4 separate regions of the Homo sapiens genome follow, and all the other regions are linked to region 1. Evidence: promoter capture Hi-C in 16 types of primary human blood cells and fetal thymus (Javierre and others, 2016). All regions are on one chromosome and are shown on one strand. The core of a region is centred on a gene start or on the middle of the fragment in contact, and the rest is flanking DNA. Distances in the headings are between cores, read along the strand shown.

Region 1 (7,613 bases), core at 1,640-4,139:
AAGGTAATTACAGAGATACTGGATGCCCTCATTGGTAAGGTACCACTAGAAATGTCTCCAGGCAAACTGTTCCTTCAAGTAGCCCTGGGACTTGAGAGACTGCATGGCCTTCATGACACGAAGGTTGGGCACATTCTTGTCTGCCATTTCTAGGTGCTTAGGCATATGGACATCCTTCTTGGCCACCATGACTCCCTCCTTAAAAAGGAGTTCATAAATGGCAATCCAGTTCTTCTTACGCATCAACATCTCAGCAGCTGTAGGGTCCCGGGCTGGGGCTGGTACATTACTCAGTCTTTAAACTTGCATGGGTGTATTGGTTTCCTATTGCTGGTTTGAAAATTTATCACATTTTATGATTAAAAAATACAAATTTGTAATTATATAGTTTTAAAAATTGGGACTCAGTCACAGATCTTACTGAGCAAAAGTGTCAAGGTGTTGGCTTGATATTAAGTAAAGAAATAAAGAGCCTGTATCTTTTCCCTTGCCTTTTTAACTGATAGATGCCACTCTCTCCTTAGATCATGGTCCTTTTCTTTCATTTTCAAAGTCTGCAATTTATGGCCAAATTTTTCTCATGCTGCCATATCTCTAGTTCTCTATTCCAATTCCCTCTTCCACTTTTAAGAATCTTTGTAATTATATTGGGCTAATTCATAACATGCAATATAATCTCCTTACTTTAAGGTCAGCCAATTAGTAGCCTTAATTCCATGGAAACCTTAGTTGCCCTTTGTCATGTTACCTAACAAAGACTCCAGGAATTTGCAGACTCCAGGGATTAGGATGTGGTCATCACTGGGGTATCCTTATTCTGCTTAACATTTTTAGAATCTGATAGAAAGCTATATAATTTGTTCTGGGAAGGGGAAACACATATGGCCACATTTCTGCATATAATTTCAGAAACTTGTTGTATTCCCCTCAAGCTGATGTAGACCTTAGTTTAGATATTTACTTCTGGAACTACAGAAAGCAAAAATCGACTGCTATGCCAATGTAAATTGGCACATGAAGCCATTTAGTATTTTTAGTTTTCATTTTCCTAGGTTTTTCTTGTTGCTTTCATTTTTTCAGTTGGGTTTTGTTTATTTGAATGTTTATATATGCTTTGCATGTGCTGTGTTCTGTGTCCATTTATGTGCCGGACAGGGAGTGGGAAGTTGAAAAATAATTATGGGACGGGTGTGGTGGCTCACGCCTGTAATCCCAGCATTTTGGGAGTCTGAGGATGGTGGATCACCTGAGGTCAGGAGTTCGAAACCAGCCTGACCAACATGGTGAAACTCCGTCTCTACTAAAAATACAAAAAATAGCCGGGCATGGTGGTGCGCGCCTGTAGTTCCAGCTACTCGGGAGGCTGAGACGGGAGAATCGCTTGAACCCGGGAGCCAGAGGTTGCTGTGAGCCGAGATTGCGCCATTGCACTCTACTCTGAGCAACAATAGCGAAACTCCTCCTCAAAAAAAAAAAAAAAGTAATAATATAGAATACTATTCCTTTTTTCTTAACTGGGTTGAAATTCTAAGAATCTTTTATATATAATATTTTAAATATTTTTAAGATACAAAAACATTTTGTAAAAATTTTAAGTATTCTACACTGGATGCCATTCATAACAGTTTATGATCTTAAGTAAGGCTTGTAATTACCAAGAATACAGTAAAACTTCAGTATCTTTATATATGAGTATATAGAATAGAAAAATTGTATTTGTAAGTAGAATGACATAAATTATTTTTTCACTTAAAAATTACAACTTTTGCTTATTAGAATAAAATGAACACATATGAAGTCAACCCTGAAGGAAAAAAAGTCAAAAACAACTTTGAGGAAGTGACAAGAAAATATTTTAGGATTAGGGGTGTGTCTCATTACTCCCAAATGGTATTTTGCCAGTGGCCAAATTTTCTTTAACTAAACCAAGAACAATGTTGATTATTAGTGCTGCATCCAGGCTCGGGTGTTCACATTTTTTCAGTTTTCATGCACATTACTTGTCTTGCTTTCCTTATATTTTAAAGAATTTGATTACATTATTTTAACCAGCTAAATTCGCCAATGCTGCGATGACTAAACCGGAATTAAGGAAGACATTCCTTTCCCTCACACTATGTCAGTAGCAAAAGAGATATTTCAAAAGTTCTTTTCTTATGAAACCAATTTGACAAGGGACACATCACAGCACAACATAAGAAAAATGTGCTTATCAGCACAATGGGCTAGCCTTCTAACCAGCACTTGGGGTAAAACAAACATGCTACGGTTAAGTATAGCATTTTCCTTCAACCAGTCAAAAGAACTGTGGTCTAGACCTACACAGCAGCAACCCCCTCAAATGAGGATAAAACCAAACCTGTTGGTGGTAAACACGGAAAATATGCAGGTAATTACAACTCTATAGCTGAAAAAGTGGGTGGCTCTTAAAAGAGCCTTTGGGATTGGGTATGAAGACGTTAGAATTACTTAGAGCTGGTGTACTTGGTGACGGCCTTGGTGCCCTCTGACACGGCGTGCTTAGCCAGCTCCCCGGGCAGCAGCAGGCGTACGGCCGTCTGGATCTCCCTGGAGGTGATGGTGGAGCGCTTGTTGTAATGCGCCAGGCGGGAAGCCTCGCCAGCGATGCGCTCGAAGATATCGTTGACGAAGGAGTTCATGATGCCCATGGCCTTGGATGAGATGCCGGTGTCGGGGTGGACCTGCTTTAGCACCTTGTACACGTACACGGAATAGCTCTCCTTGCGGCTACGCTTGCGCTTCTTACCATCCTTCTTCTGCGCCTTGGTCACCGCCTTTTTGGAGCCCTTTTTTGGAGCAGGAGCGGACTTAGCAGGTTCAGGCATGATAAATAAACACTTCGTCCACAACCTAAAGAGAAATGCAAGTGTCCTCACTCTGCAGCTGGTAATATTTGTAGAGCTCCTATCGTAAACTGGCATTTAAAAGCTTACACATTGATTGGATGAATTGTCTCTGTGTGCCCTGTGGTATGCAAATTAGGTGATTCTAGCGTTTCTTTGCAATTGGTTGGTTGTTCTAGCCAATCAAATAGCGTTATTTACAATTCGACCTCCAAGTATAATAGTTTCTCACTTGCTAACAAAATTCACTTTTACATTTTTGTCTTCATTGCTTAACATCGTTTTTAAGAATTCAAAATGTCCGGACGCGGCAAGCAAGGCGGAAAGGCCCGAGCTAAGGCTAAGACCCGCTCTTCGCGGGCCGGACTCCAGTTCCCTGTGGGCCGCGTACACCGCTTGCTCCGCAAGGGCAACTACTCCGAGCGAGTCGGGGCCGGCGCGCCAGTGTATCTGGCGGCGGTGTTGGAGTACCTGACCGCCGAGATCCTGGAGCTGGCGGGCAACGCCGCCCGCGACAACAAGAAGACCCGCATCATCCCCCGACACCTGCAGCTGGCCATCCGCAACGACGAGGAGCTAAACAAGTTGCTGGGTAAAGTCACAATTGCTCAGGGCGGTGTTCTGCCCAACATCCAGGCTGTACTGCTCCCCAAGAAGACTGAGAGTCACCACAAGGCCAAGGGCAAGTAAAACGAGAACTCTTATATTGGCTTTTTAAGGAAGCAGTCTTAACAAAGGCTCTTTTCAGAGCCACCCATGTATTCCTTAAAAGGGCTCACATTTTCTGTGTAAATAGCTATTTTGCAGTTTTCTTTAATAATTTTTCCATTTATAAGTGGGTGTTCTTAACACTGAATCGTGAAACTAACCGTCCATTTTAAAGATGCCATAAAAATACATAAGCAAATTGGCGGGGCGCGGTTCCTTACGCCTGTAATCCCAGGACTTTGGAAGGCCAAGGTGGGCGGATCACAGGGTCAGGAGTTCCAGGACAGCCTGACCAACATGGTGTGAAGCCCCGTCTTTACTAAAAATAAAAAAATTTGTCGGGCGTGGTGGCGCGCGCCTGTAATTTCAGCTATTTAAGAGGTTGAGGCAGGAGAAAATGTTGAACCCCGGAGGCGGAGGTTGCAGTGAGTCGAGATCGCGCCACTGCACTCCAGTTTCGGCGACAGAGCGAGACTGTCTCAAAACAAACAAAAACCCAAAAAAGCAAACTAATTAAAATGCAAAGAGACTTTATGTCACATGTAATTTAAATCGATCAATGCAGCGGCTCGTTAGGATTGCAAAGCTGTTAAAAGGCCTGAGACATACAGGAGAGAAGTTAATGTTTGTCAGTGTTTACATTTACATAAAAATATAGTTAGTGACTTAAAGCAACAGAACCAGAACAAATGTTTTATTGTCTTTTGTATGCATCTTAATGATACGAAATAACCTGTAATTTGTAAGTATTTTTTGGGTTTGTTTTTGCAAGCCACTTTCAACTCTACTGAGCTAACCCTAATTAATTATCAATAGGAATACAAACCTACATCCCCTGGAGCCAGACGGCCCTTAGGTGGAGCTTCTTAGCACAGTGTTCAGCATGACTAAAAGGGCACACTGGTCTTTTTGTGCCATTTATAAATTTGGCTTTTTTTTTTTTTTTTTTTTACAGCAGATTACACAAATACCAGTTGAACTTGTAAAAGATAAGAGTGCTTTCATATGAGGATGACATATTGTGGTGAAATTAAATGTGTTCATGTAGCTTAACATCAGGTTTCATATTGTTACTTATGAGTTAATAGTCATGGTGCATTTGGAACAAATTATTGAAAATATCTCCAAGTTTAAATAGACAAATCAAGATATGAAATTAACCTTTCTAAACTTAAGAGGGTAAAAAGAAATCACTTGGCCAATCACAACTAGCGCGCGTCTTTTTAAAACGTTGATCAAAGCCAGTTTCAGCGCCAACATTTAAAAAAAAATTAAGACACGTCATCCTAGTAGCTAGACACAATTTTGCCAAGGAAAACCAAAGTACGTTTTAAATAAAAGCTAGAAACATGGCACAGAGGGGAAAGGGTTGAAAACACCAGCAGTTAAAGATGGACGGAGGAAAGTTTTAATATTTGGTCTACATGCAGGAGATGTTCTGTCAGGGAGTGGGCGTCTCCACCAATCGAGCTGCAGGGGAAAGGCTGCCTTGTCCAATCAGAACAGGGGTGTCTTTATATATACGGGTACGAAAGGCTAGACTTTCGTTTTTTCGTCATTTAGCAGGGTTTAGAAGTTCGCAATGGCTCGTACCAAGCAGACTGCTCGCAAGTCCACGGGTGGGAAAGCGCCACGCAAGCAGCTGGCCACCAAGGCTGCTCGAAAGAGCGCTCCAGCCACCGGCGGCGTGAAGAAGCCCCACCGTTACCGGCCCGGCACGGTGGCTCTGCGCGAGATCCGCCGCTACCAGAAGTCGACCGAGCTGCTGATTCGCAAACTGCCATTCCAGCGTCTAGTCCGTGAGATCGCGCAGGACTTCAAGACTGATCTGCGTTTTCAGAGCTCGGCGGTGATGGCGCTGCAGGAGGCCTGCGAGGCCTACCTGGTGGGGCTGTTTGAGGACACCAACCTATGCGCCATTCACGCCAAGCGAGTGACTATCATGCCCAAGGACATCCAGCTTGCTCGCCGCATTCGTGGGGAGAGGGCGTAAATTGTCTTGTGAATGTGTGCTAACCAAAACCCAAAGGCTCTTTTCAGAGCCAACCACCTTTTCTATAAAAGTTGCTGTTTACTGTTGCTGTCCGTAAACTGGAACCTCTGTTCACTCAAGGTAAGTAAGCATTCTTGCCTCTATCCGTTCCCCCTCCCCTCACGGAATTGGTGCAAAAAGCTTTATTATAATTGGGGAGTTCTTAAAACAGCCTTTAAGGTACTCTTATATCTCCTTGTTTTGGGGGCCGCTTTCTTAGGCTTGGATGCCTCCGGCTTGGGAACTTTCTTGGCCACCTTTGACCAACCAACCTTCTCCAGCAGCCTCCACCAGCAAAAGCTTTTGGGGTCCGCTTAGTACTCTTTTTCGGAATAAGGACGCCCCAAGCTTTCTTGGGCCTCTCGGCTGCCAGGACAGCTGTCTTGGGCATGACTGCAGCGGCTTTTCTGGCCTCGGTCTTGATTTTCCTAACACTGCCTGGTTTGGCGGGAATGAACCTGAGGCGCTGCACTCCTTAGCACGAAGATGCCCTCGTTTGTTTTCAAGGCCCAACTTTATTCAAATAATTTTTAAAAATTTGTATTTATTTTTAGGGACGAGGTCTCACTGTGTTACCCAGGCTGGCCTCAAAACTCCTTAGCTTGGCCAGGCGAGGTGGCTCAGGCCTGTAATCACAGCACTTTAGGATGCCAAGGCGGGCGGATCACGTGATGCCAAGAGTTCGAGACCAGCCTGCCCAACACATTGAAACTTCGTCTCTACTGAGAATACAAAAATTAGCCGGGTGTGGTGGCACACGCCTGCAGTCCCAGCTACATGGAAAGCTGAGGCAGGAGAAGGGCTTGAACCCGGGAGGCGGAAGTTGCAGTGAACCGAGATCACACCACTGCACTCCAGCCTGGGCAGCAGAGCTAGACTCCTTCAAAAAAAAAAAAAAAATCCCCAAGGACAAACAAAACCACCAAAAACAACTCCTTAGCTTAAGAGATTCTCCCGCCTTGGCCTCACAAAATGCTGAGATTACAAACGTAGGCCACCGCGACCGGCAAGGGCCGATCTTCATATCGTAGCCGCCAACACCTACTTGAGCGCGGCCACAGAGAAGGCCGCTGCGCTTCTTGGAGACGGCTAAGTCATTAGTGATGAACTCACATACCGGAGGGGCCTGGACATCTTGCACTTCACTGCAACTTCGGACTTGCAACCTTTTTCTTTACTTCAGTCTTTGACTTGGGAGATAGACCAGGAGTCACGGCATGTACAGTTTCGGACATGATTGTAGGTTTGGATATCTAACAGTTAAAAAAAAAAAAAGTCAGGCTGCGAGTGTGTCTGTGATTACGTGTGTGTCACACACAGACACGCTGCGCGCTGATTGGTTCCCAGCTCAGTCTTTCAGCTTGGCAGCAACCTAGTCTCAACCCTGTTTCTGAGTTGTGTTTGCGGAAATTCAGAAAATCAAAATAGTTTAAATTTCCTGAGGAGGAATCACACCAATTCTATTCTACAATGAACTGGAACGGCTACGGTGTTATGATCTTTACATTTTCTTTCTCTAGTTTTTACTTAAGGCAGCCTCGGCCTTTATCAAAAGTTCCAACTTTCAGAGATTCACAGTTCAGAGGGACAACTTCTTGATTTTCATTTAAAATATAAATTCTTCCATTCGTGTCTTCAATTGTTTGCTGTCTTCTAATAATAGCCTACACATTTTTGGCTTCTCATACATTGAACAACTACTTGATTTTCATTGAGATTTAACGAGGAAATCTGTTTTATATGAGAAGAGAAACAACAGGTTCTTTTTGAATTTCTCCACAAGAACAGCAGTACGGATACTTAGAACAACAGCCCTTTCTGATAAAATTAGCTGGGGCTGAAAATATTTCATGATAGCTTCTTGTAACTATTTGGACGTTTAGTTACTTTGGGAGGGTTCCAGTAAATGTTCAACGTTTCCTTGGGAAAATGGGAAATACAATGATCACTGATTCTCCTGATATTGGGACTGTTTGCATAGCTGAACTCAGGAGAGATCCACGAAAGGA
Region 2 (7,613 bases), core at 2,495-4,994, 1.6 Mb before region 1:
TGTAACTATAGCCTTTACAGTAGAATTTGCTATAGAACCTATTGTGAGGGATATATTTCTAATCATTGCTTCTTTTTCTTTAAACCATGGAAAAAGGACCTAACAAATGATGCCTTTTTAGAAGAGTGAAGGCCTTCTGGCAATGTTCTCTTTAACCCATGATGTGGGTTAAGAGGAGTGAACCAATGTTTTGTTTTTGATTATGAGGCAAAGCATGTACCTTTAAAGTTTCTTACCTACATTGGGCCTTCATCTTTTATCTATCAAAGTATAAGTTTACCCATTTAAAAAGCTGGTTACAAACTCCTTCGCAAGTAAGAGTATACACCATAAGTGCACATAACAGACACCTTTTCCACTTCTATTTTTTTGTAGAGGCATAAGCAACAAAAAATATTCGAAGATAAGTTTCACGACAGTAGAAGTCTTAATCTGTGAACGTGAGAAAAGCTGTTCATAGTAAGGATGCCATTCTCCTCTTGGGAGAAATTTCTTTGGTTAATTTTACCTTAAGGGTTCCAGTGGGCACACAGCTCCAAGAGCTTGGAGGGACCCTTCTCAGTTGTGAGATTATGAACTCAAAGTTCAAGATCCCAAAGTTTTGTTGTAGTGTGAATGGCAAGAACAGTCTTTCTCTGATGCTTCTAGAAGATTCAAATCATAAAAAGCTTTCTTTGCCTGTTGAAAATACACTGTAGTAATCTACTGTTATAACATCAGCCCTCTTGCATAGGAAACCTTTTATACAACCAGAAAACATGCACTGAAAATAACAAATGAGCTCTCAAGCTTGGTGTTTGCTTGGTGGGGACCCACGTGGGTTCAACATGTGTATTGAGAAGTGTTATTTCTGTTCAGGGCCCATCTACCCTGGTCACGGCATGATGTTCGTCCACAACAATTGCAAGTTGTTCAGATTTTGTAAATCTAAATGTCATAAAAACTTTTAAAAGAAGTGCAGTCCTCGCAAAGCTAGGTGGATCAAAGCATTCCAGAATGCAGCTGGTAAAGAGCTTACAGTGGATAATTCATTTGAATTTGAAAAACGTAGAAATGAACCTATCAAATACCAGCGAGAGCTATGGAATAAAACTATTGATGCAATGAAGCAAATTGAAGAAATCAAACAGAAATGCCAAGCTAAATTTATAATGAACAGACTGAATAAAAATAAAGAGCTACAGAAAGTTCAGGATATCAAAGAAGTCAAGCAAAACATCCATCTTATTCAAGCCCCTCTTGCAGGCAAAGAGAAGCAGCTGGAAGAGAAAATGGTACAGCAGTTACAAGAGCATGTAGGCATGGAAAACACATCTTAAAAATCTCTGTAACCATTTCTTTTATGTACATTTGAAAATGTCCTTTACAGACTTGGAACTGCTAAATTATTAGTTTATTTTTTACATAAGGTCACTTAAATGAAAAGTGATTAAAACATATCTTTCCTACATTGACATCTGCAAAACATCAGATATTACGAATGTTAGATTGCATCTCAGTGTTAAATCTTCACTGATAGATGTACGTATGTAAATCATGAAAATTCTACTTCTAACTATAGAAGTGAATTGTGGATGTAAAATGGTTATGCTATTTGGATAATGGCACTAGGCAGCATTTGTATAACAACTAATGGCAAAAATTCATGGCTAGTGATGTATAAAATAAAATATTCTTTGCAATAAAATATTCCGTTTATTAACGTTACAGAAGGGGGGATACAACAAGGAACTAACAATTTGTATAACAGTGTCAAATGTTATTTTGATTTTAGTATTTCCTGTTTTGGTTTATTTGTATCTTAGAAGAGCACAATGACATTGTTTGATGAAGCCTAATTATTCTGGACTGTTTTGACCTGGTTTAACCCTTCTGATAGGTAGTTGTGGATATTGGGGATGAGAACTGAATAATCTTTGCCTGGAGTGACACTACACTCTAGAATTTCCATTTTGGAGAATACTCAGTTCTAACTTGTGACTGCTGGTAGAACAAACTTTATTTTTCTAGCCTAGCAATGTTCTAGAAGCAGAGGAATCCCAGTGCCTTTTAAAAGTTATTATATGGTTTTCTTTTAAAAAGCTCCTGTTTTTGGAAAGTAGAATTTATGAGTATAACATCTGTTCATTATTTGCACATAAAATGAAACCATTTAAAAAGAAAAAATAAACAGAAAAAGAAAATAACAAATGAATAAAATTCCTTTATAAAATGTTTAAATGGGCGACCACGTGACCAAACATATCTGAAGCTTTGTTTTCCCAGGAATATGGCATCAAGCATTGGTTATAAACTATTTTAAACAATTTCAGTATTAGCTGGTTTAACATGAAATTATTTTCTTGATATTTAATTAAGTTTTTGTTTTACTTGGGTTAGTAGCTTTATACAAGAAAATTTGGTTGTTTCTGCAGTTTACAATAACTTAACATAACTATAATTAATAGCTTATACTATTTTAGAAATCCCATACAATTTTGAAATATATATTAGTATTATTCACAAAAATATAGCCTAAAGAAGATTGAGCATCATTTTGGCAATCCCATGTACCTAAACGTGTCAAATAATCCTGTTTACCTGTCTTTTCTGGACACTTCAGGGGCCCGCTGAAGTATTCAAAAAGCCAGGTGCCAGGGAAGAGATTTTTGAAACCGATGTTTGATTTTGGGAATTCCAGATTGCTATAAGTTATTTATTTTGCCAAAACGATGACTCAGAAATTTTAAAGAAGCAAAGACCTTTTATAACCCTTTTGTATTTAGTCAACATGTTCACACAGAGAACCTCTTCCGTTAAAAAAAAAAAAAGTAAAACATTCACATGCTTTCAAAAGTTAAAGGTATAACAAAAGGTAAACTCAGAGAAGTGGCGTCCCATGTCCCTTACACTCCATTTCCCCCAAGTCTCTTACCACCATTTTAGGTAGCCAGATTCACTGTTTTCTGGTTTATCTTCACTATGTTTTCTTTTCAGAAAGAAAAACAGGTATGTGTATGTTTTCTTAATTCCCCTTCCTTCTTGAAAAAAGGTAGCCTACTATAATATTCATCTGCACTTTCTTTACTTAACACTATCTCCTAGAAATTATATCTTTTTTGTAGCCCCATAGCGCTTCCTCTTTGAGTCCATGTTACAGTTTATTCAACCAATCTCTTATGCCTGGACATTTAAAGTTAGTTAAAATGCTTCTAGAAGGTAAGCAGACAAAATAAAGATTATTGGTCTTCTGAGTTTGCCCATGGAATTCTGATTCACAAAATGCTTTAAATGTACCCCTATGTTTTCTACCATTTACATTTTTTAAAAAAATCTATCCAAGTAGAATCAACCATTTTACACTTAACTTCATTGTTGCTTCTCTTTCTCATAACATTCCATGTGTCTAGTTTCTGTAAGTATGGAAGGAGGAGGGTATAAATGATGTCTTTTGGCCATCGTAACAGATAGCTTTAGAGAAGAATTCACAGTACACGAAATGAATTTAATAAATCATGCATAGAGATGAACAAAAGAGCAAAAGAAGCAGGAGGCTCCCGTAGAAGCAAAAAGACAATAACGATTTACAATAACCAATGGTCTCAGGCAAAAGTCAGTAACAGTGTTTTGCCTTCGAGTGCAAGAAAATATAAAATTATATTCAACCTCAGTGTATTTTCTATTCACTGGAAGATAGGTAATTTGTTGGAAGTAAACATGAGAATTGTCACCTCCTCTTCCCAAGTAAGATATGCCTTTCCAAATAAGATATGAGTAAGAAAGGAGTTACGCAAACATTTGGAGAAAGGAGAAGGAACATGCTGAAGACATATCTAAAAGTGAGATACAGCCTCTGAAAGGACTTTTAAGAGAGAGAGAGCGAGAGAGAGAGAGAGATATAATATATATAATATATATTTAGAGGCCATCTTCTCCCCACAACTGTGGAAGGTAATTCCTCAAGAAGGGGGGGGGGAAAAAAAAAAAAAAAAGCACCCTTCTTTAGCAGAGGATGGTTTAGATCCATCGACCTCTGGGTTATGGGCCCAGCACGCTTCCGCTGCGCCACTCTGCTAACGGAAAACACGCTTCTACTCTTCTTATTTATCATGCAGGTGATCAGCCATTTTGTTGTTGTTGTTGTTGTTGTTGTTACACTGTTTTGCCTCTTTCTGTTTTTCTTTCACTGTTTCTTTCCCGGTTTTTCTTTTTTCCTCTTGGCCTCTTAAGATCAGCTCACTCTAGAACCAGTTGATTCCAACAATCCCCTTCAAGTTGCGAGTTGCCCTTTCCAAATCTACCAAACATGCTTCAAAACCTGACATTTCTTTCTTTAAGAGCTGCTTTGGGCTCAGGAGCAGAAACAGGAGAAAAGTCAAGCAAAGCCCTCAGAAGCCCTTAGAGAGAATCGAGGAAGGCATTAAGTCAGACTACTCTCCTTAGAGAGAAAGTATATTAGCCAGTTCGCTTGTTTCCTGTCCCCAATAAAATTTCTTTCCCAACACTAGAAGTATTTTTGCGTATTGACCTAGAAGTATTTTTGCATATTGACCTAACGCCTTTTGCAGCTTTCCGGGCGCCTGGTGTACCCACGCAGCCCCACCTTATCCCCACCCCTATCCCTGCCGTTGAATTCATAAAAAGGGGCTTCCTACCCTAACCCTTTGGTGTTATGTCTGCGGACAGCTTTCACTTTCAGCGAATGTGGGCTTTCCCAGCCAAGGGCCCAAACAGAGACCTTTGATACTCCTTCATCCTGTGCTATGTCAAGAAAGTCCCTTCTGAAACTTTTATTTTGCTCTTTTCACCAACTTGCTTTTCCCGTTTTCTCAGAGTTTCTCTGTCTTCAGGAAAGCCTTGTGTTTCCAGTTCCAGGTCAGGCATAGGATTGGTGGCCATTACTCTCCACCAATTTCATTTACGTTTTCTTTCTTTTTTTTTTTTTTTCCTTTTCTAAAAAGACAGGGTGAGACACTGAGGCAGATATACTGGGGTTAGGAAGATATCCCAGAATAAGAGCATGAGAAAGCAGGCTGGAATGGTTCATGTGGACAAGATGAGTCCTAAGCAAAACTGAACCAGGTCCCACCAGGACCTGACGTGGGGCCACTAGATTTGGAGCCATGGGTATTAACTATCACAGCAGGGAGCCCCAACCCCTGGGCCACTGACCCGGTACTGGTCAGTGGTAGTGGCAGCCTGTTAGAAACCGGACCACACAGCAGAAGGTGAGCAGCAGGAGAGCCAGTGAAGCTTCATCTGTATTTATAGCTGCTCCCCATCACTCTCATTACCGCCTGAACTCCACCTCCTGTCAGATCATCTGAGGCATTAGATTCTTATAGGAGTTCTAACCCAATTGTAAACTGCCCATTTGAGGGATCTATGTTGCCCACTCTTTATGAGAATCTAATGCCTGATGATCTGTCACTGTTTCCCATAACCTCCTGATGGGACCATCTAGTTGTAGGAAAACAAGCTCAGGGCTCCGTCTGATTCTACATTATGGTGAGTTGTATAATTATTATATATCACAATGTAATAATAGAAATAAAGTGCACAATAAATGTAATGCATTTGAATCATCCTGAAACCATTCCCCTCTCCCCCAACCCCTGTCCATGGAAAAACTGTCTTCCATGAAACCAGTCCCTGGTGCCAAAAAGGTCTGGGACCGAGGCATCACAGCACTGAATTGCTGCTTACACTACAGGTGTTGCCAGAGGGCTCAGAAGGGTTTCCAGAAGCCAGTGAGACCCCAGCCCCAGCCCCAGCCAGTTTCCAGGTTCTTGACACCTTCGTAAGAAAGAATTCAGGGAGGAGTCAGAATGAAGCCAAAGGCAAGAAGCTTTTATTGCTAAGCAAAAGTACACACTTAGGGAAGTGTGGGTGAGCTCATGAGAATGAGTCGTGCCCAACAGAGTTTGAGTTTTCTATTTTTATGGGCTCTTGTAATTAGAGGGTGGACTAATCATGAGGTTTTCTGGGGGAAAGGCGAAGGTTTCATAAAATTGAGATGCCACCCATTTTTATATTAAATATGGGCGTACTCGATCTGTCAGGGCGCTGGTGGGTGTGTAATTTCGTATGGTAATTAGCATATAATTAGGTCTTGGGTAGGGCATGGGTCAAATCCAGCGCCATGTTGGACCCAGACGGTTTCAGACAGCTTAGCCACCATCCTGTTTGTTAGGGTCTTATCAGCCCAAGTTCTTTCTTGTCCTTGTAGCTAATTTTAACAGCTCCTTTTTTGCTGTTATGTGAAATTACTGCTTGATGTTTCTCCTATGACTACCCAGCATTCCTATCAAATAGAGATGAGATTTATCACCTTCCTTGTTCCCCTGGCCCTCTCACTCCACTAGCATGAACCCTTCAGTGACTCAGGTGCCTGATCTCAGCCTCTTTCAGAAAATAATCTGAGTGGAAAAACATTTTTATAGCCGCAAGCCAGGACTCCTCCCCTCCCCTCCACCAAATGCCCTATTTTCCTCTCAAAGGGGTTTAGGTCTGTGTTGCATGGGCCTTCTCTGTGGGGAAAAGCAAGAGAGATCAGATTGTTACTGTGTCTGTGTAGAAAGAAGTAGACATAGGAGACTCCATTTTGTTCTGTACTAAGACAAATTCTTCTGCCTTGAGATTCTGTTAATCTATGAACTTACTCCCAACCCCGTGCTCTCTGAAACATGTGCTGTGTCAAACTCAGGGTTAAATGGATTAAGGGCGGTGCAAGATGTGCTTTGTTAAACAGATGCTTGAAGGCAGCATGCTCGTTAAGCGTCATCACCACTCCCTAATCTCAAGTACCCAGGGACACAAACACTGCAGAAGGCCGCAGGGACCTCTGCCTAGGAAAGCCAGGTATTGTCCAAGGTTTCTCCCCATGTGATAGTCTGAAATATGGCCTCTTGGGAAGGGAAAGACCTGACCGTCCCCCAGCCCGACACCTGTAAAGGGTCTGTGCTGAGGAGGATTAGTATAAGAGGAAGGCATGCCTCTTGCAGTTGAGACAAGAGCAAGGCATCTGTCTCCTGTCCGTCCCTGGGCAATGGAATGTCTCGGTATAAAACCCGATTGTACGTTCCATCTACTGAGATAGGGAAAAACCGCGTTAGGGCTGGAGGTGGGACATGCGGGCAGCAATACTGCTTTGTAAAGCATTGAGATGTTTATGTGTATGCATATCTAAAAGCACAGCACTTAATCCTTTACCTTGTCTATGATGCAAAGACCTTTGTTCACGTGTTTGTCTGCTGACCCTCTCCCCACAATTGTCTTGTGACCCTGACACATCCCCCTCTCGGAGAAACACCCACGAATGATCAATAAATACTAAGGGAACTCAGAGGCTGGTGGGATCCTCCATATGCTGAACGCTGGTCCCCCGGGTCCCCTTATTTCTTTCTCTATACTTTGTCTCTGTGTCTTTTTCTTTTCCAAGTCTCTCGTTCCACCTTACGAGAAACACCCACAGGTGTGGAGGGGCAACCCACCCCTTCATTCTCTCTTCACTAGAAAACCAGTGAGGAAGTGGAAGGAGGAGACTGAGCACCTGCCATGTAATATGCAGTGGTGTACCTCACTTAATGTGCAGCAGGAAGAGCCGCAGACAAAACCCCTCAGACACCGAGTTA
Region 3 (7,613 bases), core at 1,275-3,774, 1.6 Mb before region 1:
GCTGGGTACTCATCAAAAAGGCTATACAGAAATAAACACTTGTTTAATGCCCATACCGTGAAATCTAAGACCTAGATTGTTAAGATTAAGATCTTACCTTTATTTCATGTAGAAATTCATACTTGTAAGATTTTTAGTATGACAAATCAAAACACAGGAAGTACACCTAACTCACACTGGTCTCAGAAAAATTCCCAGGGGAAAGTGCCTTGAGGTAAAGCTAAAATAATGAGTAAACTTATGGTAAAGAACGAAGGATTTGGGAGAATCATCCAATTGAATGAAAATTAGACAGCATGAAATGTCCTCCCATAGTAATTGAATCCATCAGCAGTGACCTAAACCTGTGAATCCAGAGAGCTTACATGGCTCTGTCACTCCCACAACCCTCAGAGCCTGATTTCAGCCCTTTGGGGAGAGTTTTGATTGGCTCTAGGGCTTTCTAAGGGATGCAGGATAAATTACCTGACTTTAACACCTTCTCTGTGGATTTTTCTGGGCCAAATCCACAGAAGTGAAACACTAGAAACTTCCTTCTTCAGTTCTTTGAATTCAGTTTTAAGATCAGTGATATTTTTCTGTGAGGAAGCTGCCTCTCTTTTTAGTTAGACAGAGGTACAAGGCAGGAAAAGACTTTTTCTTTTCCCTTTTTTTCTGTTTCCTTAAAACACACAAGATTGAGCTCAGGCATTCTCTTTATCAAACTCTTCCTGTAGCTGAAAGAGGGTCTGGCTGATTGTCACTTGTAGAAAAAAGCCAAAAGAACAAGAATGAGGCCGGGCGTGGTGGCTCATGCCTGTAATCCCAGGACTTTGGGAGGCCGAGGCGGACGGATCACGAGGTCAGGAGTTTGAGACCAGCCTCGCCTATATGGTGAAACCCCGTCTCTACTAAAAATACAAAAATTAGCTGGGTGTGCTGGCGTGCGCCTGTACTCCCAGCTACTCAGGAGGCTCAGGCAGAAGAATCGCTTGAACCCAGGAGGCAGGGCTGCAGTGAGCTGAGATCGTGCCACTGCACTCCAGCCTGGGCAACAGAGTGAGACTCCATCTCAAAAAAAAAAAAAAAAAAAAGAAAAAAAAAGGAATGAGGTGTAATTAAAAATAGAGTAAGTTTTATTATCCATGCTAGCAATGGGGAGAGTGGCTGGCCAAAATTTGCCACTCTCCAATTTCTGGAGAGAGGCCAAGCATTTCAAGGAGAGGAGCTTGTAATGCAGAGGGGCAAGAGGCAGGAGGTGCCCAGTGGGTGTCTCATTCTGATGGCTTATCTTGAATTATTGTTTCACCTGGTGAAGGGGCCAGTGACATTGTAGGCCCAATCAAGTTACAAATTAATGACAGTCAATCTTGCAGATAATCTCTAGCCAAGAGTGAATATTGTCCTTGAATTAATCTCCTACTGGAGAGAGAATTCTGGAGATGTCTGGTCTGCATCAGGATTCAGCCCCTGAAGCTTCTAAGGAAATATATGACCAGATAAGTGGGCATGGTATGAGCTTAACAAGCATCCAGGTAAATAAATGAGCATAAGGCATGGGGGCATAAGATGCGAAAGGGAAGGCAGTTTTAATGCCCATTCCAAGGCAGTAATTGACGACAAAAGAAAGCACATCTGCAGTTTGTCTCAAAGCTATGTCTAGAAACTGGGGAGAAAGAAGAAAAGAAACAAAGTTTTTAAAACGTGGTTTGAAGCTAAGCTGCTTGGTTACCTTCCAACCTTCTGCAAGATTTTGCTGTTTTTTGTTATTATTAAAACAAGTAATAGGCCAGGCGCAGTGGCTCACACTTGTAATCCCAGCACTGTGGGAGGCTGAGTCAGGCAGATCACTGGAACTCAGGAGTTCGGAGGGGGAAAAAAACCAAGCCTGCGCGCTCTGAGCCCCACCCCCCATTCCCCATGGTGTCTGAGTAGGCTCCCAGGGCGAGCAGGATCCCTCCTCACAGGCGAGACTGGCTTCCTTGGAAAACCAATAGTCGGACTTGCGAGTTTTCCTCCAAGATAATTTTCTCAGGGACTTCTAAATGTGGTGCTGTACGCCTATGGTCCTAGCTACTTGGCAGGCTGAAGTCGAAGGATTGCTTGAGCCCTGGAGGTCTAAGCTGTAGTGAGCCGAGATCGCGGCCACTGCACTCCAGCTTGGGTGACAGAGCAAGACTCTGTCAAAACAAACAAACAAAACACACACACACACACAATGTAAACCAGGAATAGAAGGAAACTTCCTCAACTTGATAATGCCCAATTATGAAAAACATACAACTAATATCATTCTCAACAGCGAAAGACTGAAAATTTTTCTCCTACAATCAGGAATAATGGGTGCCCACTTTCACCATGTTATTCAGCACAGTATTGGCAAGGAAAAAGTAAAATTATCTATGTTCACAGATAACATGACTTTTTTTTGAGAGAGAGATGGGATCTCTCTTTGTCACCCAGGCTGGGATGCAGCAGAGCAATTATGCCTCACTGAAGCCTCGACTTCCCTGGTTCAAGCGATTACCCTGCCTCATCCTCCGGAGTAACTGGGACCACAGGCGCCTGCCACCATGCCCGGCTAATAAAAAAAATTTTAGAGACTAGGGTCTCGCTATGTTGCCCGTGTTGCCCAGGCTGGTCTCGAACTCCTGGGCTCAGGCGATCCTCCTACCTTGGCCTCCCAAAGTGCTGGGATTACAGGTGTGAGCCACCAAGCCTGGCCGTGACATGATTTTTATATATAGAAAACCCTGAAAATTACACACACACACTCAAACACACACACACACAAACTGTTACAGCAAATAAAGAAATTTAGCAAAATAAGGATAAACAACCACATGAGTTCCAGCAGAGAGCGCGGTGGGAAGCGGAGCGCGGCCAGCTGCTCTGGGGCCCTGCAGACCCTCTGGTCTTGGACCTGAGGAGGAGACGGGGGCCCGGCCCCGCGGCGGCCTCTGCTCTGCAGGCTCCCAGAGTCCTTGCTGTGTCTCCCACCGGCCAGGCCCAGGCCTGAGGCAGCGTCGAACCTCTCTTCACTTCCCACCTCGGTGACCTGGTGGCCCTCTGGTCTTCCAGAAAACCCTGCCGGGCCTAGACTAAGCCCCCGCTGGCCGCCAGGACGCAGCGCCTTTGTGTGGCGGCGGGTGTCGGGGGCGGGAAGAATCGCGCGGAAGCTGCCGGGGTGTGCAGGGACCGGGAAGGCGGAGCTAGGGATGCAGGTTCGGTCGCCTCTTTAGGCCACTGCGCCACGCAGATTGGGTCCAGAAGGTGCCGTTAAGTTTCTTCCCAGAAACTGTCAAGGTGCTGGTATGTTTCTTGCCCTTGCACTTTTAGTGTACTAAAATCAACGGCCAAACTCTACTCTTTATAGCAATCAAAGTATTCACCCATGCGCCCAATTTCTTTGCAAATGCCAAGCAAGAAAACCTCAGGTAGATGGAGGGAGCAGATAATTTGACTTTTTTTTTCTTTAATTTCACTATAGTGTCCTCCTCCACACATACAAGGATGAAGTTTTGTTTTTTAAGATGAAACAAATTTGTCATTAATGAAAGGATTGTCAAAATCTTCCCAAAGGTCCTCAGCTTCTGAATCACCTGGAAGCTTCTAAAAATTAAGACTTGTGGGCCATACCAGAGACCCTCTGCACTAGAAGGGGGTATGGCAAGGAATCTTAGGAATAGTCCACCTGGAGAATCACTAGCGTAAGTTCTGGGCCTCACATTCCCTCAGAAGAGTCCCATGAACCTGTGGTCAGCAGCTTAGGGCTGGTCTTCTTTACTGATCTGAGGGACAATGGGAAGCTTAGGACTCCCTGCATGGCATCTCTCCCGCCCAGGGGAGAACAGCTCAACAAATTTCCTCATTAACTACAAAGTTAAATGGAAGCATATGCTATGAAAATGCCACAAAAAGCTGTTGCTAGATGAAAATGTCTAAATTTGCTTTAAATTATCATGGGGGCTTGGCAGAGGGAGGAGAGACTAATTGTTGAAGTAGGATCATGGAAATAAGGAGGTCCATAATATTCTCTATAATCTTTTTTTGTCATAAACAGGGGTTTATAAAACTACCTAGTATAGCATGGTGGTCAAGAACACCAGTTCTGGAGACAAACACACCTGGTGGTGTCCTTTCCTAGCTAGCATAACCTCAGCACATTGTTCAAGCCTTAACTTGCTCAAATGTAAACCCGAAATGACAGGGATAGATCTTGACTCAGGAGGCTTGACAAGGCTAAAAGTAATACTAAAAATAAAAGCAGTAACTACTTCTGTAAGTTGAGCACTGTCTGAAACACTTCAGGGAGTTTTTCTTAATTGAGTTTATGATAATTCTATGAGGTACACACTGTATCCATATCCATTTTACCAGCACAGACAGAGTCATGAAGAAGCCAAATAGCTTGCCTGAAACCCTACATATGATGAGAAAGTGGCAGAGGAAGGAATTGTACTCAGATATTTTGGCTCCAAAGATCCCTGCCAGATCTGCCCTGCCAGTTCATAAGGACTAAGAAGATGCCTCCTCTCTATACTACCATCCAAATGCTTCGCAATCTGTACGTCTGTTGCTCCACTTTTTGCTTATGGCATATTGGCTGCTCATGTTCCTCTTTCTTCTCCTTGAGAGTTAGGATTGTGTAATCTTGTCCTGCATGCCTCTGGTACTCCTAGTGACAACATAGGGTCACAATTGTCTGGCACATTGTTTGTAGCTCAATAATTTATTTTTCTTTTTAAAAAAATTTGAAATGGGGATCTCGCAATGTTGCCCAGGCTGTCTCGAACTCATGGCTCAAGTGATCATCCCGCCTAAGCCTCCCAAAGTGCTAGAATTACAGGCATGAGCCACTGTGCCCAGCCAATAATTTATTTTAATTAATATGAAATAAATGTGTTTACAACAATTTTTTTTAAATTAGAGATGGAGTCTCCCTATATTGCCCAGGCTGGAGGGCAGTGGCTTTTCACAGACACAATCATTGCACATGCAACCTCAAACTCCTGGGCTCAAGTGATCTTCCTGATTTACTTCGTCTCCAGAGTAACTAGAACTACAGGTACACCACTATGTCCAGTTTAACAATATTTTTTATCTTTTTTCTTTCTTTTTTTCTTTAACAATATTTTTAATGATCATTGTTGCTGCTAATCTGGTCTTGATTTGTTAATTGGGAAATACAGTCTAATTTGTTAATTGGGAATTACAGTCTTTCTTTCAGTTGTTACCCACAGCATTCCAATTATTCATGATCCAGCTACTACCAGCTCACATGATCTCAAGGTGAGAAGGGGCTCTCTGTTCCTGGCACCCATGGAAGAAAGAATACTAAGTAGAGGAAAAAGTAAGCACAGACTTTCTCCAGACTGGTCTGGCAGCCCAACCACCACCTCTAAGCACAGAGAGTGTGTGGTGTTTATATGCAAAGTGAAGTTATAAGGAGGAATCTGGAAGAAGGCAGCTTGCTTCTAGGTGTGCAGTGAAAGTAGATAGAGGAAGACAGTGAAAAGGGAGAGAAGAACAAAGAAAAGAAAAAAATACACGAGCGTTTTATCCTCCTTTTCTAAATCAAATAGCATTGAACTGTCACATTCCAGAGAAATAATTATTTGTGACATAGAATCCAATCTTGTAACCTTGTACCTGTTCCCCAGTATATCTCATCCTGAAGCTTACCTGCTCTGTAACAAATGCTAATAGTCCCAAGAGCTCAGTCTTACAGGTCCGGGTTCCTAAAAGGGTCATTTTCTGGCACTAGAAAGATGAAGATCAGAACAAGTTGCATGGATAAGATAAGGACACTATGGTAGAATTTTTTTAAAAAAATCAAATCATCTGCTCTCTACTTCTCTATCTACTTGAGGTTTTCTTGCCTGGCATTTGCAAAGAAATTGGGGCTCATGGGTGAATACTTGGATTGCTAAAATGATAAAGTTTGGCTGTTGGTTTTAGTACACTAAAAGTACAAGGGCAAGAAACGTACCACCACTGTGAGAGTTTCTGGGAAGAAAGGGCAGCTTTGAGATTATAGAACCTGGGGCATCTGGAAAAACTGTATTTTTTTTTTCCTGTAGAAGAGACATGGGACCAAAGGCAAGTTTTACTGGTATTGTGGTTATCACATTTGCCCAATACAGTAAAGACCCTTGGTTTGAAACTCAGTAAGATTTATTATTATTATTATTTGAACAGAACTCTTTTGTTTTCTCTCCTGTCCTGGACTTGAAATCGGCTTATCCAAACCCTAGAGACGCTGACACCCCGCATGCTTTCCCCTCCCACCGTTCAGGGCGTTGCCAGCTCCTCCCTCCTGCATGGTCGGCTGGGTTCCACCAGCTCCGCTAGTGTTAACAGGAGGAAGTGTCCCCCTGGTCTGCATCTCCCTGGTGATCTGGTTCTCATCCGAATGCAGACAGCGGAAAGGGAGGGTTTTCCACAAGGAGGTCGGCAAGTATTTCTAGAAAGAAAAGAGCTTCTCTTCTAATTAGAGCACCAAAGACTACGCTACAGTCAGGTGAAGTCATTAGCCAGTTATTTATTATTTTTGTTATGGGAAGCATAATGTTCTACTTTTTATAGAATTCCTTCGAATTGAGTTATCATTGAAGCTACTAGTTGGTTACAACTAAACATTAAAATGTTTATATCTTATAAACATTATATAACATTATATATAATGTTATATAAACATTATATAACATTAAAACATTTATATCTATAAATTTGAAAACTAATCAGTATTTTTTAAAGTATAAAACAATGGGAAGAACATCTAAATACTAGAAATAGGTTTAAAAATTAGTTCATAGATTCATAGATGCATAAATCTTAACAAATTACCTTTCCCAAATTAATTCTATGCCTCTTTGTATAAGTAACTACTGGGAAATATAGTTTATTATACAAAAAAGTACAAACCGATTATTTATCAAATGTTCCTCAACTTAAATTAGGACATCGAGTTTTTATATTATAAATAGTAAATGTGAAAGTGTGTAATTCACCATAATCAAAAAAAAATCGGAGGTGGGGGTGGAGGGAAAGGGGGAGAATTCAGGACTAGTCTTTTAGGTCAAAAAGAAGAAGCTTTGTAACCGTTGGTTTCCGTAGTGTAGTGGTTATCACGTTCGCCTAACACGCGAAAGGTCCCCGGTTCGAAACCGGGCGGAAACAAAGAGAGTCGCTTTTTTTTCTATCGCTAATTCTGTTTTTGAGTATTTTCATTTGAACCAATAGAATCTTTGCTTTTTGCCGAGCACGTGAACCCTCAACTTCTGTACTCCTTCCGTCACCCAGCGACGTGGCGCTGAATCCCGCGTCACACCTTTCTCTACCCCACGCCGAACCCTCACCCTCATCCTCCTTTTCTGATCTCCGTCTGAGTGACCCCGGTGGTGTCAATCCCAATAGGCACCGGAGTCCCAGAACTCCACCCGCCTGCACCTCGCAGGTGAGACAGGCTTTCTTGGAATCCAGAGAGCAGCACTTGCGGGTTTTTCGTGGAGGGGGTTTCCTCGGGGATTTCTAAGGAAGAGCGCTTCGCTTTGAGCCCTTCGGGGAATTGGATTTGCTCTTTTTTTGCTGAAGCACAGAGAGGAAACACTTTTTTTTTTTTTTTTTTTTGA
Region 4 (7,613 bases), core at 3,348-5,847, 1.3 Mb before region 1:
CCCATCCGGGAGGGAGGTGGGGGGTCAGCCCCCCGCCCGGCCAGCCGCCCCGTCCGGGAGGTGAGGGGCGCCTCGGCCCGGCCGCCCCTACTGGGAAGTGAGGAGCCCCTCAGCCCGGCCAGCCACCCCGTCTGGGAGGGAGATGGGGGGGTCAGCCCCCCCACCCGGCCAGCCGCCCCGTCCGGGAGGGAGGTGGGGGGGTCAGCCCTCCGCCCAGCCAGCCGCCCCGTCTGGGAGGTGAGGGGCGCCTCTGCCCGGCCGCCCCTACTGGGAAGTGAGGAGCCCCTCTGCCCGGCCAGCCGCCCCGTCCGGGAGGGAGGTGGGGGGGTCAGCCCTCCGCCCGGCCAGCCGCCCTGTCCGGGAGGGAGGTGGGGGGGTCAGCCCTCCGCCCGGCCAGCCGCCCCGTCTGGGAGGTGAGGGGCGCCTCTGCCCGGCCGCTCCTACTGGGAAGTGAGGAGCCCCTCTGCCCGGCCAGCCGCCCCGTCCGGGAGGGAGGTGGGGGGGTCGGCCCCCCGCCCGGCCAGCCGCCCCGTCCGGGAGGGAGGTGGGGGTGTCAGCCCCCGCCCGGCCAGCCGCCCCGTCCGGGAGGGAGGTGGGGGGGTCAGCCCCCCGCCCAGCCAGCCGCCCCGTCCGGGAGGGAGGTGGCGGGGGTCAGTCCCCCTGCCCGGCCAGCCGCCCCGTCCGGGAGGTGAGGGGCACCTCTGCCCGGCCGCCCCTACTGGGAAGTGAGGAGCCCCTCTGCCCGGCCAGCCGCCCCGTCCGGGAGGGAGGTGGGGGGGGTCAGCCCCCCGCCCGGCCAGCCGCCCCCTCCGGGAGGGAGGTGGGGGGGGTCAGCCCCCCTGCCCGGCCAGCCGCCCCGTCCGGGAGGTGAGGGGCGCCTCTGCCCGGCCGCCCCTACTGGGAAGTGAGTAGCCCCTCTGCCCGGCCACCACCCCGTCTGGGAGGTGTGCCCAACAGCTCATTGAGAACGGGCCAGGATGACAATGGCGGCTTTGTGGAATAGAAAGGCGGGAAAGGTGGGGAAAAGATTGAGAAATCGGATGGTTGCCGTGTCTGTGTAGAAAGAAGTAGACATGGGAGACTTTTCATTTTGTTCTGCACTAAGAAAAATTCCTCTGCCTTGGGATCTTGTTGATCTGTGACCTTACCCTCAACCCTGTGCTCTCTGAAACATGTGCTGTGTCCACTCAGGATTAAATGGATTAAGGGCGGTGCAAGATGTGCTTTGTTAAACAGATGCTTGAAGGCAGCATGCTCGTTAAGAGTCATCACCAATCCCTAATCTCAAGTAATCAGGGACACAAACACTGCGGAAGGCCGCAGGGTCCTCTGCCTAGGAAAACCAGAGACCTTTGTTCACTTGTTTATCTGCTGACCTTCCCTCCACTATTGTCCCATGACCCTGCCAAATCCCCCTCTGTGAGAAACACCCAAGAATTATCAATAAAAAAATAAATTTAAAAAAAAAAAAAGTTAAACCAAATTTCCATTTCTAGAGTAAATCTGATTTGAATATAATGTTTTGACTTTTAAAATAATATGCTTTATTTACTTTGCTAATATTTTGGTAAAAAGTTTTGAGTCTATGTTTAAAAGAAATATTGGCTTGTAATATTCTGTTCTTGTACTCTCTTTCTGGGTTTTGGTATCAGAATTATGTCTGTGTAGTTAAATTAGCTGAACAATGTTTTCTCTTTTTCAGTTCTCTGAATAGCTTTCTGAAAGACTGATATTATTTATCTCTTACTTGTATGTGGGAATTCACAAGTGAATCTACCTACGCCTGGAAGTGTATATGAGTGGCTCTTTAAATTATGGATTTAATTTTTCCAATAAGTATAGGGCAATAAAGATTTCCTATTGCTTTTGGTGTCAGTTGTGGCATATTGTTTGTCTTTTTTTCTTTCTTTCTTTCTTTTTTTTTTTTTTTTGAGACGGAGTCTCACTCTGTGGCCCAGGCTTGAGTGCAGTGGCGCGATCTTGGCTCACTGCAACCTCCGCCTCCCGGGTTCAAGCAATTCTTGTGCCTCAGCCTCCAGAGTAGCTGGGATCACAGGCATGTGCCACCACGCCTGGCTAATTTTTGTATTTTTAGTAGAGAAAGGGTTTCACCATGTTGGCCAGGCTGGTCTCAAACTCCTGACCTCAGGTGATCCACCTGCCTCGGTCTCCCAAAGTGCTAGGATTACAGGCGTGATCCACTGCACCCGGCCATATTGTGTTTTTCAAGGAATATATCTATTTCATCAAATGTTTCACATATATTGACATAAACACATTTATAATACCTCTTTCTTGTTTTTAAAATATCTTTAGGGTGTATATATGTGTGCATGTATATATATATATATATATATATATATATACACATACACACACACACATACATATAATCTGTTTCATTCCCAATGCTAGTATTCATGTGTTATCTTACCCTCTTTTTAAAATCAGTCTTATTCAGGGTACATTCGTTTTATCAATCTTTTCAAAGAACCAAACTTTTACTTTGTTGATTTTCTGTGATGTATGTTTGCTTTCCATTTTATTGATTTCTGCACTTATTTTTAATAGCTCCTTGTACTTTTTGCATTTAAATTGCTGGCTTTTTATAGTCTCTTGAGTTAGATCATGGATTTTCAATCTTTCTATTGTTGTAATACATGTAGTTAAAAGTAAAAATTGTTCTCTATAAACAGCTTTAGATGCATTAGACAAATTATGATACGTCTTATTTTCATTATCTTTCAGCTTAAAACATTTAAAAATTTATATTGTGTTTTCTTCTTTGACCTGTAGAGTGTAGGACACAAACTGCTTTATTTCCAAACATTCAGAGTCTTCTGGTAGTTTTTCCCGGATACAACAAAGACTGAAGCTTTGTTACAATTTGTCTAGTTTAGTTTTTCCTTGCTGTGAAGGCATAGCCTTACTCCTTTTATGTGGTCCTTACTTTAAAGGTTTATCACTTAGTGCTAAGGGTTAGTATTTCTGAAGTCTCAAAACAACAGCCATTTTACCAATGGGGCTCCAACTGGGAGAGGCATGAACATCAACCTCTGTCTCCCTAGAACCATGCAGCTACTGGATCTCTACAGATCATTAGCCTTCCAGTTGCTCTTTCCTGTACTGGAACATCTTCCTGTGTAGGTACAACTTAGGAATTAGCCAGTAATATAAGGAGAATTTATAATACAAATTTGAGATCTTTCTCTGTGGTTCCCTCATCACTTGAATTTTGACCATCAAGTTCTATGCACGTTGGTAGCCCCAAACTCTGACCAGTATCTCCTTAGTCCAGCACAACTGCCTCTTTCCACATGAGGTCTATTCCACAATGGTGCAATACGGGACACACCTTCAGGAGGAAAGCACTTTCAAATGTGCAAACTCATATAATGTGCTTCCCTTCTCTCAAGGATTGTAGTTTGTCAAGCCTTGCCTGGGTTGACAGCTTATCAGTGCCTTCAAACAGTTGCTTTAAGTCGGGCTTGGTGGCTCACACCTGTAATCCCAGCATTTTGGGAGGCTGAGGCAGGTAGATCACGAGGTCAGGAGTTCAAGACCAGCCTGGCCAACGTGGTGAAACCCTGTCTCTACTCAAAATACACGCCTGCAATCCCAGCTACTCGGGAGGCTGAGCCAGGAGAATGGCTCGAACTCAGGAGGCAGAGGTTGTGGTGAGCCAAGATTGCGCCATTGCACAGCAGCTTGGGCGATAGAGCGAGACTCTGTCTCAAAAAAAAAAAAAAGCCAGAAACAAACAAACAAACAAAACAATTGCTTTATAGTTCTTATCCACGATGAATCATTTTTCTTCTAGATTAAAAAAGAAATAATAGATTAAAAGGAAGTAATAGAGACAAACGAGATTCAATGTTAGGTGAAAAGGATGAGGCATCAATCACTCTACTGTTCAATAGTGTTAACGAAAAAAAGAATCCATTGGCTGAAAGTGTTGCACAATAATATTAACTTTTAAATTTGATGGCCAAAATTTCATGACAAAAATGTTAATAATAATTATTTTTCTTTTTTTTTTTTTTGGAGACAGAGTCTTGCTCTGTCGCCCAGGCTGGAGTGCAATGCTGCAATCTTGGTTCACTGCAACCTCCGCCTCCCGGGTTCAAGTGATTCTCCTGCCTCAGCCTCCGAGTAGCTGGGATTACAGGTGCCCGCCACCACACCCAGCTAATTTTTGTATTTTTAGTAGAGATGGGGTTTCAGCAGGTTGGCCAGGCTGGTATCGAACTCCAGACCTCAGGTGATCCACCCGCCTCAGCCTCCCAAAGTGCTTGGATTAGAGGCATGAGCCACCTCGCCTGGCCAATAAGTATTTTTAAAACAAAATCAGACATATTGTTATATGCTGGAAGAGTATTCTTTCATTAAAGAAGCAATGCTGTTGGCTTTGATTATGGCTCACAAAAATATTGCTTTTAATATTCATCCATTCAGCGTTGGTCGAGGGTATATACTAGGTACACTTCTAATTCCTACCTTATTATAAAGGAGCTTAGAATGATTTGGATTTCGCCATACCTTTCCATTTTATATTGTCGTTGCTGTTTTGAAATTTAGTACCATTTGTTTTCATATTCCAACATGTAATCATTACGAAACAATGTTGTTTCAGGCATTCACTCTTTATGTAGCTTTTGTCACATGTTATGAATTTTCTTGCTCACTTATAACATTTTGAATCCCACTCCTTCATCAGTTCTAAATTCCTATTCATTAATGTAGTCGTCACTCTTGTCATATGCATTGTTCAAAATTGTATATTTGCCCTTTTACATTTTAATTCGTATATTTTCATTTATAGTTTTATTAGGCTTTTCTCCTTTTAACTTTCCATTCTGAAATTATTTTAGACTGACAGACACAGTACATGAATAATACAGATAATTCCTGAGCACCCTTCACCCCAATTCCCTCAATATTAGCACATTAAGGATATTCCTATATTTTCTTTTCCTTCTCTCTCTCATATATATACATAAATGTATATTTCTGAACTATTTGACAGTGAGTTTGAAGACACATACCTCCCCTTACCCTTAAATACGTATTTTGTAAATAGGTGTGAATTTTCTTAAAGACATTTTGTTCTATAACCATAGAACAATTAATACAATCAGGAATTCACATTCATAATATTATAAAATCTATAGACTTTATTGAGATTTCACCAACTATTTCAATAATGTCCTTTAAGATAAAAATTCCAGACCATATGTTGCTGTCATATCTTTAAGATCTTCTATAATGTGGACTATTTAGTCAGCCTTTCTTTGTGTTCTGTAACTTTGTTATTTTATTTATTTGTTTATTTATTTATTTATTTATTTATTTATTTTTCCTCCCTGCTTGCCTGTTACTAGGTTGATGCAAAAGTAATTGCAGTTTTTGAGGCGTACAAGTCAGTTATTTTGTTAAAATCTCCCTCAATATGGGTTTGTCTGATGTTTTCTGATTTAGATTACATATTTTTGCCAAGAATACCACAAAAGTGACGTTGTGCTCTCATGAGCACATCCTGTAAAAAAGGTATATAATGTAGATTCGTCCCAATACTGATTCAATCACTTGGGTAAGATGGTATCTACCCGGTTTCTCCACTGTGATGGAGATTACAGTGCAGAGTGGAAATTTTCTTGCTATTACAGAACCTCATGATTTCTACAGCTTATGGTTTTTGCGATCAGTATTTCGTTGGTTTGAAAGAACTCTGCTAAAGAAAAAGAGAACCCAACATTTGCCCAGAAGACTAGAGACTGTGTTTACCGGAAGTGTGCTTTTCTAAAAAAAAGTTTAAGCCTCCTCCCCGTCGGGGAATCGAACCCCGGTCTCCCGCGTGACAGGCGGGGATACTCACCACTATACTAACGAGGAATTGACGTGAAAATGGAGCTCTTAGGAAATCCCTGTGAAGTTACTCGCTATTGTCCATCTTTCTTTGCTCTGTAGTCACACGTTTCCCCTACCAAATATACGCAAGGCAATTCAGCGAACGTGTCTCCGCCCAACCGCGAATCCTCTCCAGTTCCTCCTTCATTCCTCGGACGCTTTGTCAGACCCTTTTAAAAAAGAACTCTCGCTAGCCTCCTTTGTGACGCACTGGTTTCCGTCTATGTTCAACCATGGTTGGAGCCCTAGCTAACATAGGAGTTACAAATCCCGAAAGGTGCATCGGTTGGTTTCAAAGACAGGAAAAGCAGAGGTGGGACCAATACCTGCGCTCCGTTGAGGTAAAATAGATAAAGAGTCTGCAGATGTATTTTTAAAGTTCAGGATGCGTCAAGTGGCACGCAGAAGCTTTATCACGAGTTCCCTCGCCCCCAAACTGAAAGCAAATATGACATCGTATTTCCTCTCTGAAGTAAATACGATTCCTCTCTGTTCTCAGTAAAACATCCCGAAGTCGGCAAAAGTTCAGGCTGCGTTAAGTGGCACGCAGAAGCTCTATTACGAGTTCCTTTACTCCCAAACTGAAAGCAAATATGACATCGTATTTCCTCTCTGAACTGTTCTCAGTAAAACATCCCGAAGTCGGCAAAAGTTCAGGCTATGTTAGGTGACACGCAGAGGCTCTATCACGAGTTTCTTTACTCCCAAACTGAAAGCAAATGTGAGATCCTATTTCCTCGCTGAACTGTTCTCAGTAAAACATCCCGTAGTCGGCAGGATTCGAACCTGCGCGGGGAGACCCCAATGGATTTCTAGTCCATCGCCTTAACCACTCGGCCACGACTACACGAATGGAGAAGGCTCCCTTCACATCTTTAAACAGAATTTACACCAGCTAACTGACAAGAAACGGTCAAAAGAACAAAATACGGTAAAAATGGTTTCCTGGGCAAGAAACTGGAGTCTGCGAGTTCATTAGAAACTCTAACGTGAAGTGCAAGTTGGATAAGACAAGCCAACCTCTCTGGGGCAGCCGCAAGGAGTCCTTGCCCTATCAGCAGTACCGTTTCCAGAAAACTAGAGACCACTGTACCTCTCTCACCTGGACCCAAACTGACCCCGCAAGGAAGTGGAATCAGACCCTCACCGTAAATCTGGGCCTGACACATTTAGTTTTTGTTTGAAACTTCCTCTCATTGAGGCTCCTTGATGAATGCTAATGGCTTTCAAGAAGGGACTAACTTTTGATTTGTGTCTGAACTGGAGGGCCAGAAAATGATGCAGAAAAGCCTACTTGCACTTTCTTGCTCTGATGAGGTCCCTAAGTCTCTAGGCTCACACCAACCCAAGGGAGTATATCTACCCGGTCTCGTTTGCACGGCATTTTGCATTTCACAATGCGCTTCCACGCTTCAGTTGGGTTAAGAAAGAAATTTATAGATTGTTCATGAGTTCCCATGGAACCAGGTTACCTATCAAAAGGAAGATCCTACTTTGATTTTTGGCCAAGGCAGACGCTCCTTCTCTCAAAATCTAACCCACGCAGTATGTTTTCTTTTCCTCTTATGCTTCCGTCTTGAAGTCTAAAGCTGCCGGTCCTGGAGTTTCCCTGAGCCCTTTGGATGCACAGATTATTGTAATTGGCTTTCATCTACTTCTTGGAACCATATACTAATCTAAGAAAAGAGGGAAACAATCGCAAGCTA

What was found. Contacts are between HindIII fragments. The CHiCAGO score rates a contact against its expected background, and 5 or more counts as called.
Region 2: a fragment that was not itself captured here is called in contact with the fragment with the promoter of H2BC7 in region 1 in 2 of 17 cell types (M2 macrophages and M0 macrophages); the score reaches 8.3 in M2 macrophages.
Region 3: a fragment that was not itself captured here is called in contact with the fragment with the promoter of H2BC7 in region 1 in 2 of 17 cell types (M0 macrophages and monocytes); the score reaches 7.7 in M0 macrophages.
Region 4: a contact is called between a fragment that was not itself captured here and the fragment with the promoter of H2BC7 in region 1, in 1 of 17 cell types (naive CD8 T cells). The highest score is 7.2, in naive CD8 T cells.

The regions. Positions count from the first base shown.
Region 1 is chr6:26,194,792-26,202,404 of GRCh38, reverse strand. H2BC7 (H2B clustered histone 7) reads right to left here and starts at 2,889. Exons shown (of 1, transcript NM_003522.4): 1 at 2,417-2,889. The coding sequence starts at 2,846. The coding sequence ends at 2,466. It overlaps H2AC7 (H2A clustered histone 7), which reads left to right and starts at 3,112. Exons shown (of 1, transcript NM_021065.3): 1 at 3,112-3,621. The coding sequence starts at 3,162. The coding sequence ends at 3,554. H3C4 (H3 clustered histone 4) reads left to right here and starts at 5,119. Exons shown (of 1, transcript NM_001376937.1): 1 at 5,119-5,621. The coding sequence starts at 5,155. The coding sequence ends at 5,565. It also overlaps the pseudogene H1-12P and the pseudogene RPS10P1. RefSeq lists enhancers at 2,448-2,537, 2,529-3,148, 3,308-3,487, 2,421-3,620, 3,668-3,737 and 7 more. The HindIII fragment of the contact is 6,177 bases long and covers 1-2,951 here.
Region 2 is chr6:27,774,326-27,781,938 of GRCh38, reverse strand. It overlaps the pseudogene RSL24D1P1. Among named protein-coding and RNA genes, the nearest start is that of TRQ-CTG6-1, 13 kb to the left of the region's middle. RefSeq lists a silencer at 3,997-4,056. The HindIII fragment of the contact is 2,981 bases long and covers 2,254-5,234 here.
Region 3 is chr6:27,752,948-27,760,560 of GRCh38, reverse strand. It overlaps TRV-AAC1-5 (tRNA-Val (anticodon AAC) 1-5), which reads left to right and starts at 7,089; the gene lies at 7,089-7,161. RefSeq lists a silencer at 6,986-7,125 and an enhancer at 7,576-7,613. The HindIII fragment of the contact is 2,133 bases long and covers 1,458-3,590 here.
Region 4 is chr6:27,477,953-27,485,565 of GRCh38, reverse strand. TRD-GTC2-6 (tRNA-Asp (anticodon GTC) 2-6) reads right to left here and starts at 5,892; the gene lies at 5,821-5,892. It overlaps TRS-AGA2-2 (tRNA-Ser (anticodon AGA) 2-2), which reads right to left and starts at 6,754; the gene lies at 6,673-6,754. RefSeq lists a silencer at 5,780-5,839. The HindIII fragment of the contact is 3,440 bases long and covers 2,878-6,317 here.